Linked DNA regions of Homo sapiens: regions 1 and 2 are each linked to region 3. Evidence: promoter capture Hi-C in 16 types of primary human blood cells and fetal thymus (Javierre and others, 2016). All regions are on one chromosome and are shown on one strand. The core of a region is centred on a gene start or on the middle of the fragment in contact, and the rest is flanking DNA. Distances in the headings are between cores, read along the strand shown. Region 1 holds the start of ZNF668 (zinc finger protein 668). Region 2 holds the start of STX4 (syntaxin 4). Region 3 has its middle 14 kb from the start of KRABD5.

What was found. The method cuts DNA at HindIII sites, captures the fragments that hold promoters and counts their contacts. A CHiCAGO score of 5 or more calls a contact.
Region 1: a contact is called between the fragment with the promoter of ZNF668 here and a fragment that was not itself captured in region 3, in 3 of 17 cell types (fetal thymus, naive CD4 T cells and erythroblasts). The highest score is 6.7, in fetal thymus.
Region 2: the fragment with the promoter of STX4 here is called in contact with a fragment that was not itself captured in region 3 in 2 of 17 cell types (fetal thymus and naive CD4 T cells); the score reaches 6.8 in fetal thymus.

What each region holds. Positions count from the first base shown.
Region 1 is chr16:31,072,118-31,075,494 of GRCh38, forward strand. ZNF668 (zinc finger protein 668) reads right to left here and starts at 2,123. Exons shown (of 3, transcript NM_024706.5): 1 at 1,542-2,123. It overlaps ZNF646 (zinc finger protein 646), which reads left to right and starts at 2,305. Exons shown (of 3, transcript NM_014699.4): 1 at 2,305-2,514. RefSeq lists enhancers at 999-1,799, 1,091-1,385, 2,005-2,538, 2,044-2,183, 2,539-3,071 and a silencer at 1,274-1,733. The HindIII fragment of the contact is 2,318 bases long and covers 1-2,271 here.
Region 2 is chr16:31,032,060-31,035,244 of GRCh38, forward strand. STX4 (syntaxin 4) reads left to right here and starts at 1,499. Exons shown (of 11, transcript NM_004604.5): 1 at 1,499-1,776; 2 at 1,954-2,055; 3 at 2,167-2,266; 4 at 2,403-2,477; 5 at 2,911-2,981. The coding sequence starts at 1,747. RefSeq lists enhancers at 823-1,334, 1,847-2,357. The HindIII fragment of the contact is 4,602 bases long and covers 70-3,185 here.
Region 3 is chr16:31,697,958-31,701,209 of GRCh38, forward strand. It overlaps the pseudogene CLUHP3. Among named protein-coding and RNA genes, the nearest start is that of KRABD5, 14 kb to the right of the region's middle. RefSeq lists silencers at 2,460-2,599, 2,860-3,009. The HindIII fragment of the contact is 5,761 bases long and covers 1-3,252 here.

The DNA.
Region 1 (3,377 bases), core at 873-3,372, 620 kb before region 3:
CTCTCTGAGCCCTGACTATTGCTTTGCTAGCATTACACATCTTATGGTTTGGCTGTTAATTCTTCATCACCAGCACCAGAGTCCAGGCTGGCAAAGGGCTAGGAAACCGATCATCTGCCTCCTCTACACCCAGAACCCTGTGTGGTGACCCAAAACAAATGGAAAGAACCAACCTCAGATGAAATTTGAACCCAGGTCTGTAGCCTCTGCCTCCTCCACAGTAGGAGTTTGTGAGAATGTCCACCAATAACTGTTTATTAACTAAATTCCTCCACCTTTCCAACTCCACAAGGCTCAACTATTGCCCCAATATCCCACAGTGGGCTCCCTGTCGTGGCGATGAAGCCTTGCTTTGCCTCACTACTGGCTTAGGAAGGGGATGAAGTTCTGCTGTCTCACTAGGCAAGCAAAGATTCAATTTCCAAAAATCCTAGGCTAGGACCCTGGGGCAGGGATGAGGAGAAAAAGGAGGCACCTCAATCTTCCCATCTCTAAACAAGCAGTCACCACACAGGCCTCACGGCCAGGAGTGACGTAGTGAGCGGATGAACCCTGCAGAAGTGAGCGCTAATCATATCCTAGGCCTCCTACCGGGCCAGTTCACAACCTGATCCCAACCTACTTTTCCAGCCTCAGCTCCAGCGACAGAGTCCTCCTCCCGGCAGCGACCGAACCTCCAGCCACAATTCTCAATCCTCCACCTCTAGATGCAGTTTCCTGGGCTCGGGGAGCCCTTGCCTGCCTTCTCCAACGGGAAAGCCCCTTTACATCCTTCAAGAACCCCCTTCCCTAGTGCCCTCAGGAATACTTTATGGCAGTAGAGAGGTAAGGGCCCCACGCCGCTCTGGACCTCAGTTTCCTCATCAGTAAAATGGGGTCCCTTAAGTTTGTGGGAGTTTGAAGGGCGGTGGGGCCTACGAAGCGCGCCGAGGAGCCGAGAGTTGCAGAAACCCGGAGCTCCTCGCTCCTCGCAACCGTCTGTACGCGGCGCCCCCGCCAGCCAGGCAGCCCCTGGAGGGCAGGACCCCGGTTATAAGCCTCAGAAAACGTGGCTTCGGAGGACGTGGCAAGGAGGACTGAACGAAGGATGAGGAGATGAACAAATGAATGGACGGAAGGCCGAATGAGGGACAAAGGCTTGCAAGATGGCGTTCTCTAGGACCGCGGGAGTGGTGGCCGGGCCTCAGCAGGGGAGGGGGCCGCCGGCGCCTGGGATCTTGCAGCGCGGGCCACGCGACCGGGACAAAAACCCAAAACATGGCGGGCTCTAGGACCCCCGGGACCACACCGCGCCGGGCCAGCAGCCGCGCGGGCCGAGCCTGGGTGTCCGCAGCCCAGAACCGCGGAGACAGCCGGCGGGTTCTAGGACCTGCTGGGCCCGCAATGCGCCCGGGGCCGCTCACAGCCCGCCCCGCCCGCGCTGCTCGCGCTGGGCCAACCCGGCCCGCCCTCGGCGCCCGCAGGGAAACTGAGGCCAGCTCGGATCGTGGCCGCGTGGGAGCTGCCCGGGGCCCTCGCGGCTTCCCGCCGACGTTTCCTACCTGATGAGACTTGTGCTGACTCCGTGGCGTCGGCGTCGGCTCCTCGCACCGACGGAGCCCGGACCCTGCCAAACAGGGGCCGGCGCTAGGACCCAGCGGGGGGCGGGGAGGTGGGACCGGTGGCGCGGCGAGCGGAAGTGAGGGATCTTCCTCAGCTAGGAAGGAAGGGAAAGTTCCCGGGGAACCTCCAGCCTATGGCGGCAGAGAAGCATCTTGCAAGAGGTCTCTGTGTGTGCTGAGGCAAGGGGACGCCAGGCAGGCTGACGGTATACGCCCGCCTTGTGTTAGTCTGGGGCCAGGTCACCGGCAATGTCTTCAAGAACCAGAAGGTGGGAGGACAAAAAGGCCATGCTCAAGCTCTGCAAAACCTAAGTCCAATTATATTCCACAACATTTCCTTTAATAGCAAGGAGTGGGTTTCACGAAGTTTTCTCCATCTGCCTTGGGAAAAGTCCTCCAGAGAGCCCCACGAAAAGTGTCACCAAAGTACTGTGGCCAGGGCTGTAGAATCTTTTTCTCCCTTTCTGCGCCTATTCAATATGCACCGGAACGATTCTAGCTGCTCTTGCCGGAAGTGTGGCTAGCTTAGCGTGCAAAGACGCCGCGTTGTGACCTACGTGGGCGGAGTCAGCCGTGCAGACCTAGAACTTAGCGCCGGAAGTGTGTCTGCGTAAAACTGCGGCTCGGAGGCGGGACAGGCAGTGCTCCCGAAGCGGAAGTTTCGCGGGGAAGCTTTTGCACCTAAGGACACTTCCTGTTTCCTAGTAACAATAGGAAGTGTCCGTAGAGCTGGGAGTAGACTCCTGGCTCATGCCAGCTGCGCCCTCTTTTCTCTACCTCCTTCCTCTTCCCCCCTTCTCCTTTCCCTCTTTCCCTTCCCTCCCACCTCCCGGGAACCCTGGCTGAGTGTGCGTGTGTGGGAGCGCGAGAGCCCCCCGACAGCCACCCCTTGGGGCGCGCGGCTGCAGTTAGGGTAAGGGTCCCAGTGCGCAGGCGCGCTCTTGTTCGCGGTCCCCAACTGACGCGCCCGCGGCGGGAAGGAGAGGGGGCCGCCGGTGCGAGGTAGGCGTCCTGAGAGGAAATTGGCAGACGAGATGAGTGAGGTCAGAGGACTTCATTGGTGGTTGACTAGGGGAGGGGACTTTTGATCAAAGGGGCTTTGTGAGGTGAGAATTCCGGGGGCAGGTTCAGTGAAGGGGTTTACGGTCGGAGACAGTTGTACTGGGGTCCCATGGGAAGAAGAGTCAGAGTTGGAGAAGGACAAGACGATGTAGGGGGCATGAGAGAGCAAGGGCTTTGGGATGAAGACCGCCTCAGTCAGGGGGTTTGCTGTTACGTGAACTAGAATAACAGGCATTGCCGTGTGTTCTGAGGATTGAGTAACACAATGAATATAGTTAGCACAGTGCCTGGCACATGGTAATATAATACTCTTCATGAGTTGCTGTCATCATCAGTATTAAGAGAGGAGGCAGAAGAAAAAAATGAGAAAGACTGGTGAGGGTAAGATCAGGAGGCATGGGAGAGAAAAGGTAGGCAATGAAGTGACATTACAACCTGGTATTGATGTTATTCCCAAGATGGAAGATAGTTTGAGTTCAAGGGAAGTAGATAAAAGAAGTCGCTAAGAGAGTCTTTTGGGGTTTTTTGTTTTTTTGAGATGGAGTCTCGCTCTGTCACCCAGGCTGGAGTGCTGTGGTGGGATCTCAGCTCACTGCAACCTCCACCTCCCAGGTTCAAGCAGTTCTTCAGCCTCAGCCTCCTGAGTAGCTAGAATTACAGGTGCCCACCACCACGCCCGGCTAATTTTTGTATTTTTAGTAGAGACAGGGTTTC
Region 2 (3,185 bases), core at 249-2,748, 670 kb before region 3:
GAATCTAGGTTTCCTGACCAGGGCATAGCAGAAAGGGTCCATTCCTTTCCTTGCTTGTACCTTCACAGAAGCTTCCTGGACAGAGCCCTGGGGTCCAGGAGACCTGTTATTCATTCCCGGCTATGCTGAGACTTGCTGAGTGACCTTGGGGACTCCTTCTAGAGAATATAAGTTCCACGAGTGCAGGAATTTTTGTCTATTAGTCCTTGATGTATCTCCAGCCCTAGAACAGTGTTTGGCCCATACTATGTGCCCAAAAAATATCCATTAAATGACTGAATGTTGCTGTGCATGGTGGTGCATGCCTGTAATCCCAGCACTTTGGGAAGCTGAGGCAGAAGGATTGCTTAAGCCCAGGAGTTAGAGACCAGCTTGGACAACATAGTGAGACCGCATCTCGTAAAAATTTTTAAAAATAAAAAATGAGTGAATATCTAGATAGCCAGGATTAGAGAAGTGTCACAGTCAGAAAGCCTGAAGCCTAAAGAAGACCAAGGAACCAGGGGCTTTATCCTCAGATACATGAAAGCCTGAAATTCTGTCCACAAGTATTTATAGAGGGCCCGTAATGTTCTTGGTACTGGGCTAGGAACTCCCCAGATTCAGTTAAGAACAAAGTCATTACCTGGCCTCAGATGCAAGGCAGGGGCTGGGGGGTGTGAGTGGCAGGGAGGCAGCGTGATCAATACAAACACTTTTCTTAGCCTGAGCTGCCCTGACATGGTCTGACGGCTCACAAGGTGGTGAGTGCAGCCGGGCTGCAGTGTTCAAGGAGGGCGCCGGCTGGCCGCCCACCTGTCAGAGGCTGCGCCAGAAGGATGCGGAAGAAGAGATTTCTGCCTTGGCTGAGGTCACTTCCCACCCCCAGATTCCCTGCCCACACAACCCTGCAATTTTCTGACGCTGACGACTCGGATCCTATTATTTCCCGATTTTCAAGGTCCCATGATGCTGACAGCCCCAAATGCTAAGTCGTCAGTCCGCCCACGCCCTGGACCCGAAAGCAATAAAGGCGAGGTCAGCAAGGGTCCTACCACCCACTGCCTCGAAAGGCCTCTGGGGGTGGTCGGCGCGCCCCTCCCCACCTCGCGGGGGCCGTGTGGGCGTCGCTCGGTCGTTGGGGTGCCGGGGACGTCGTGATGAGAACGGCGTCCCAGAGACGGCGGTGACAGAGCCGGGACACGTGACAGTCACAGGGTCACATTCTGCGGTCCACGAGTTTGGGACCGGGCTGGTCACGTGACGCGGTGGGGGCACCATGGGGTGATGTGAGATGCGGGTGTCTCGGATTACGTACAAATGACGTATTCCTACCCCTTTTGGCAACCAGATTTCCGTTGGAAGATGCAACGGTTCCGGTGACGGTAGCAAGTTCTCGCGTCCAGGCATCTCCGCTTCCGCTCGGGGCGCAACAACTTCCGACTCCACCTTCCCAGCCTCGGGCAAGGAAGAGACGCGACCATGTGCGCATGCCCCGAATTTATCACGGAGGGGCGGGGCTGAGGCTGCGGGAGCTGGAGCGGGGAAGAAAAGGGAATTCCAACCTGTGGAACCTTGGGGGGTCCCCGGGGTCGGCGCCTTCCCATTGACTGTGGGCGGTGCAAGGGACGGAGCCTCTGGCGGCTCGTGGGGGTGTTGGGGTCCGCAGGGGGAGGGAGGGGAGTGTCAGAGTGTGAGCGGGGTACGGGAATTCCAAATTTGAGGGCCTCCCGGCTCTGGCGCCGGGGAGGGAGAGCTCAGGCCGCCATGCGGGACAGGACCCACGAGCTGAGACAGGTGAGACGCCAGGGCAGCGGGGATGGGGACGGGCGGACGAACTGGAACGCAGGACTTCTGGTCTTCGGGATAGGGAGGGGTGGCTGATGGCCAGGAAGGAAAGTCCCGGAAGCCTGTGGGTCCTGCGGGGTAAGAGCCGCAGCGAAACGGTGGTGCCAATGACTCCGGGCCTGGCAGGGGGATGACAGCTCGGACGAAGAGGACAAGGAGCGGGTCGCGCTGGTGGTGCACCCGGGCACGGCACGGCTGGGGAGCCCGGACGAGGAGTTCTTCCACAAGGTAAGGGGCTGGGGTCTCCGCCTGGATTCGCGAGGGTGTAGGAGGACCCGAGGAGTAGCGTGGTCTGGAGTACCCCATATCTCTTTCAGCCCTCTCGGTCACCCTCCCCAGGTCCGGACAATTCGGCAGACTATTGTCAAACTGGGGAATAAAGTCCAGGAGTTGGAGAAACAGCAGGTCACCATCCTGGCCACGCCCCTTCCCGAGGAGAGTGAGTGAAACCCCGGCTGCAGGGCGCATGCTCCGCCCCAGGGATTGTGGGGGTTGTAGTTCCACGCAGGTGGTGGCCAGAGTGGTTTGTTGAGGTGGGGGCTGCTGTTTGGGAGTCTTGGCCTTCTCTTATTCAGGCATGAAGCAGGAGCTGCAGAACCTGCGCGATGAGATCAAACAGCTGGGGAGGGAGATCCGCCTGCAGCTGAAGGGTGAGCTCCTGGGACCTCAGACAGATCCTTCCCTCTGATCCTGCCCTGTTGTTGGTATATCTGGGGAGTGTGTGGCCCAGAGAAGCCAGTGATATATCCAGGTCACACAGCAGGCCTGGGTCTAGCATCTGTCTCCTGGCCTCCAGGCCATTGTACTCTCCACAGCACAAGTCCGCCTCTCAGGTTCTTTTATTTACAATGAAACCATTTACTTACACAGTTATCGCTGCCCACTGGGCATTCTTTGGGCAGGGAGATGGAGTTTTGTTAGGTGGCCTCTGCATACCTATGGGAACTCAGTGATGTAATGCAAAGAAAAATAAACTTACTTTCTCCTCTTAGAGGCTCAGCCTTAGTCATTTTATGATAAATTATATTTCCCTAAAAATCCTATGGAGACAAGTACCCCCAATACCCCTGTGTCTTCCCACAGCCATAGAGCCCCAGAAGGAGGAAGCTGATGAGAACTATAACTCCGTCAACACAAGAATGAGAAAAACCCAGGTGGGTTTTTTTTCTCAGAAATGAGGACATTTCAGCAAATGTTTCATGAAGTATTAGATGACAGGTGTATGAAGGAAGGGCCTGCAGAGATCATGGAGTCCAATTGGATGACTTTTCCAAATGGGGAAACTGAGCTCAGAGAGAGAAAGAACTTGCTCAAGGTCAGGAAGCCAGGTCTCCTGATGCTCAGTCCGGTTATAACAC
Region 3 (3,252 bases), core at 1-2,500:
ATGTTTTAAAATTTACATTTAGTAATATAGACATTAATTGTGTCATAAATGTCAGGACCCCAAAACACCCCACCTAATGAATGACTCTCATCTATGGACCTATGGCTGCCCACCTGCTAGTGCGGGTGCTCTCACCACTCCACCCCCAGAGCTTCGATCTGTCTGGTCAACCTTCTAGGATGATGAAGTAGCTGAAGCACTCTTATGATCTGATTGAGGTCTTGGCAAACAGCTTGACTTGTTAGAAATCGAAGGCTGACTTTAAGACGTACTCAGCTGTTTGGCTAAATTGAGGCAGGAGGAAATGTCTTCTCGGCAGATCTACCTTTGTGTCTCTTGCTTTCAGAGTAAAACGTTGTTTCGGGAACAGTAGTTTAATTTAGTCTGTGTTAAAAATCATAATCAGACTACAAATAACGCACGGGGATGAAAATAATTTGCACACATGTTCGTGCATTATATGTGTTTTCAGATCTCTCCTATGGTAAGAAATGAAAAAGTTATGCCTTGATTTTTTAAACTCAGCCATCAGCCATTTTCCCAAGTTAATCTAAATGTTTGCAAGACATTTCAGAAGCATTCTCTGGTGGGGATTACTCCTAATTGTGAATAATCCTACTAGAAGGATGAGCATCTCAAAAGAACCTTTATTCTATTGCAGAAGAGTCAGTCTTCAGGATCTCAAAGGCCTAGGGAAGCTGCTTGAGTTGTGAGGTCTATGGAGGTACATGGGCTTTGGAGTCAGGCAAAGTTGATCCAGAGTCCCAGTCCAGCCACTTAGTAGCTGTAGTGCTTTGGACATGTTCCTTGACTTGGAACAGTTATATAAACCTTGCTGTAAGAAAAGGCAGAATGATACTGACTGCAAAATGGCTCTGGTGTCCATGCCCTTTGGAATATGCTTTTACAGCTGCTCCAACATAGAGGCAGAATCTGTTTCCTGACGCTTGGATCTGGGCTGGCCTTATTTGCTCTGGGCAATAGAAAGCTATCAATATGGCAATGTGACAGTTTGGGGTCTAGGGACATAAGGCCTTGAATGCTTCTGCTTTTTCTTTTAGAACCCTGCCATCTCCATGAGAACAAGCACATGTTAGCCTGCTGGAGGATGAGATCCCACTGGGGAGGAAAACCAAGGTGCCCCAGCTGACACCCAGAAGCAGAGCCACTTAGTCAACCAGCAGCTGACCACACACGCCTGAAGGAGCCCAGCTGAGACCAGAAGAATGGCCCAGTTGAGTCCAGCCTAAATGACTGACCATCCCAATCATGAGCTAATAAGGTTTAGGGTGGTTTTTAATGCAGCAATAGCTAACTGATACATACACCTGCAGTCAGGTTGCCAGGATTCAAATGACAGGTTGGTCACTACTTGTTGTTACCTGGCAAACAGAAGGCACTGTATAAGGTATTGATTTGCTTTTCCCTTTATTTAAAGTGGGGCCTCTTGTTGGATAGGGATAAATTATACAGAAATGCATGTTGACATGCTTGGTGCTTAAACTCACACAGTCCCCACACCATAGGAGGAAACAGCCCGCCATAGCCTAACCATCAGGGCCAAGGGCAAATTGCAAAATAAAAAAAATTTGCTTTTATTCCCTCCACATCCAAACTTTGGAGGTCAAGGCTGTAGACAGATCTGAAGTCAGGGGTTTCCTCCTGAAGCCTGACACTCTTCATTCACTGTCTGACCTTTGGAAGGCTGAGGGAGCCCTGCCCAGAAGCAGGTGGGCAGCAGTGGTCGACCTGTGGACACCTCCTGACTGCAGCCCTGGCTCTCTCACTGGGCACTGCCTCTCCCACCCTTGGGCATGAGGAAAGAGATGGGCAGGATGAGGGTGTTCGCTCTCGTCTGGCAGGAAAGGGGGTCCAGGCCCTCGATTTCCCTGAGGTTAGACGCGCAAGTGCCCTCAGATCTGCTCTTCAATGCGGAAGCCACTGCCCACGTGGGGCTGCTGAGCTCTTTGGATAGAGCTGGTTGGAACTGAGATGTGCTAGAAGTTTAAATACAGAGTGACTTTACAAGATTTAGTACCCCAAACTTAAGAAGCATTCTCTGGTGGTCTTCATTAATAATTTCATATTGCTCACATATTTGAGTGATAATATTTTGGATATATCGGGTTAAGGTATTACCATCAATTTTACCTGTTTTCCTTTCATGATGCCACTAGGCTACTGTAAATGACACATGCGGCTCAATTTTATTCCTATTGGACATTTCTGACTTAGAGGACTCCCTCCATTTTCAAATCTCATGCTGCCTCCACAAGGGACCAGAGGCCATGAAGGTTATGAAATCTGAAATTTTAAAAGAATCGTTATTATATAATTTTCAATTTTACATATTACCTATATTACTCATAAATTGATATAATCTTATGAGCAAAGTTAAATACCAATGTCCGGAGCAGCCCCAGGTCCCAGCACAGGGAGTCAGCCCTGCCTGAAAAGGGCTGCAGACAATCATTCATTCAGGCCTCATTCAGCCACACCTGTGATCGCATCTCCTGTCACTCGGGGGTAAGGGGGCGGGACCTGGAGCCCTATCCATTCAGCGGCGCCGTTGTCGAGCCTGTCCAATCAGGCGCGCAGCCGAAAAAGGGGGCGCACTTCCTGTGTTCTGGGCTGGCCTTTTCCTCTCCCAGGTGCGCTTCCCTGCTTGATCTGTGTACCCTGCTCTTTCTCCTTCATTCCGCAGCCTCCTTTGCCCTGTGACCTGCAGGTACTGGACGGTCCCTAGAGAGGATACCGGGACGCTCCTGAAGCCGCGAGATGGTGAGTCTGCGGGGCTGAGCTTCCCGAGACGCGGCAGGGGTCGGCTGGGAACCGGGCCTGCCCCTGGCGGCTCCGGGGTCGGGGCCCGGAGTCTCCTCGGTCACACGGTGCGGCTCGGCCGGCAGCTGGGACCCCGGGCGCCTCGTCCCGTCCCTGCGCGACGACCTTGGTCCTGCCTTGAGCCCTCTCTGGGCAGTTTCGCGCCCGCAGCCCCGTGTCTCCCCGCGTTGTGCGGTGATGACGGGAGGGGCCGTAGGGGAGAACCCCGGCTCGGGGTTCGGGCGTGGGAGGAGCTGTGGTCCGTGGGGTCCGTAGTCCTTTCTTTCTTTTGTTAAAAATTAAACTGAGGTTTGGTTAAAACGTTAAAGATTTTATCTGAGCAAATAACGACCCGTGAATCAGGAAGCCACAACCATGGATTGTGGTTTGGGGTCCACCGGAGGGGCTTGAAGGAAAGGGTTTAATAAGATG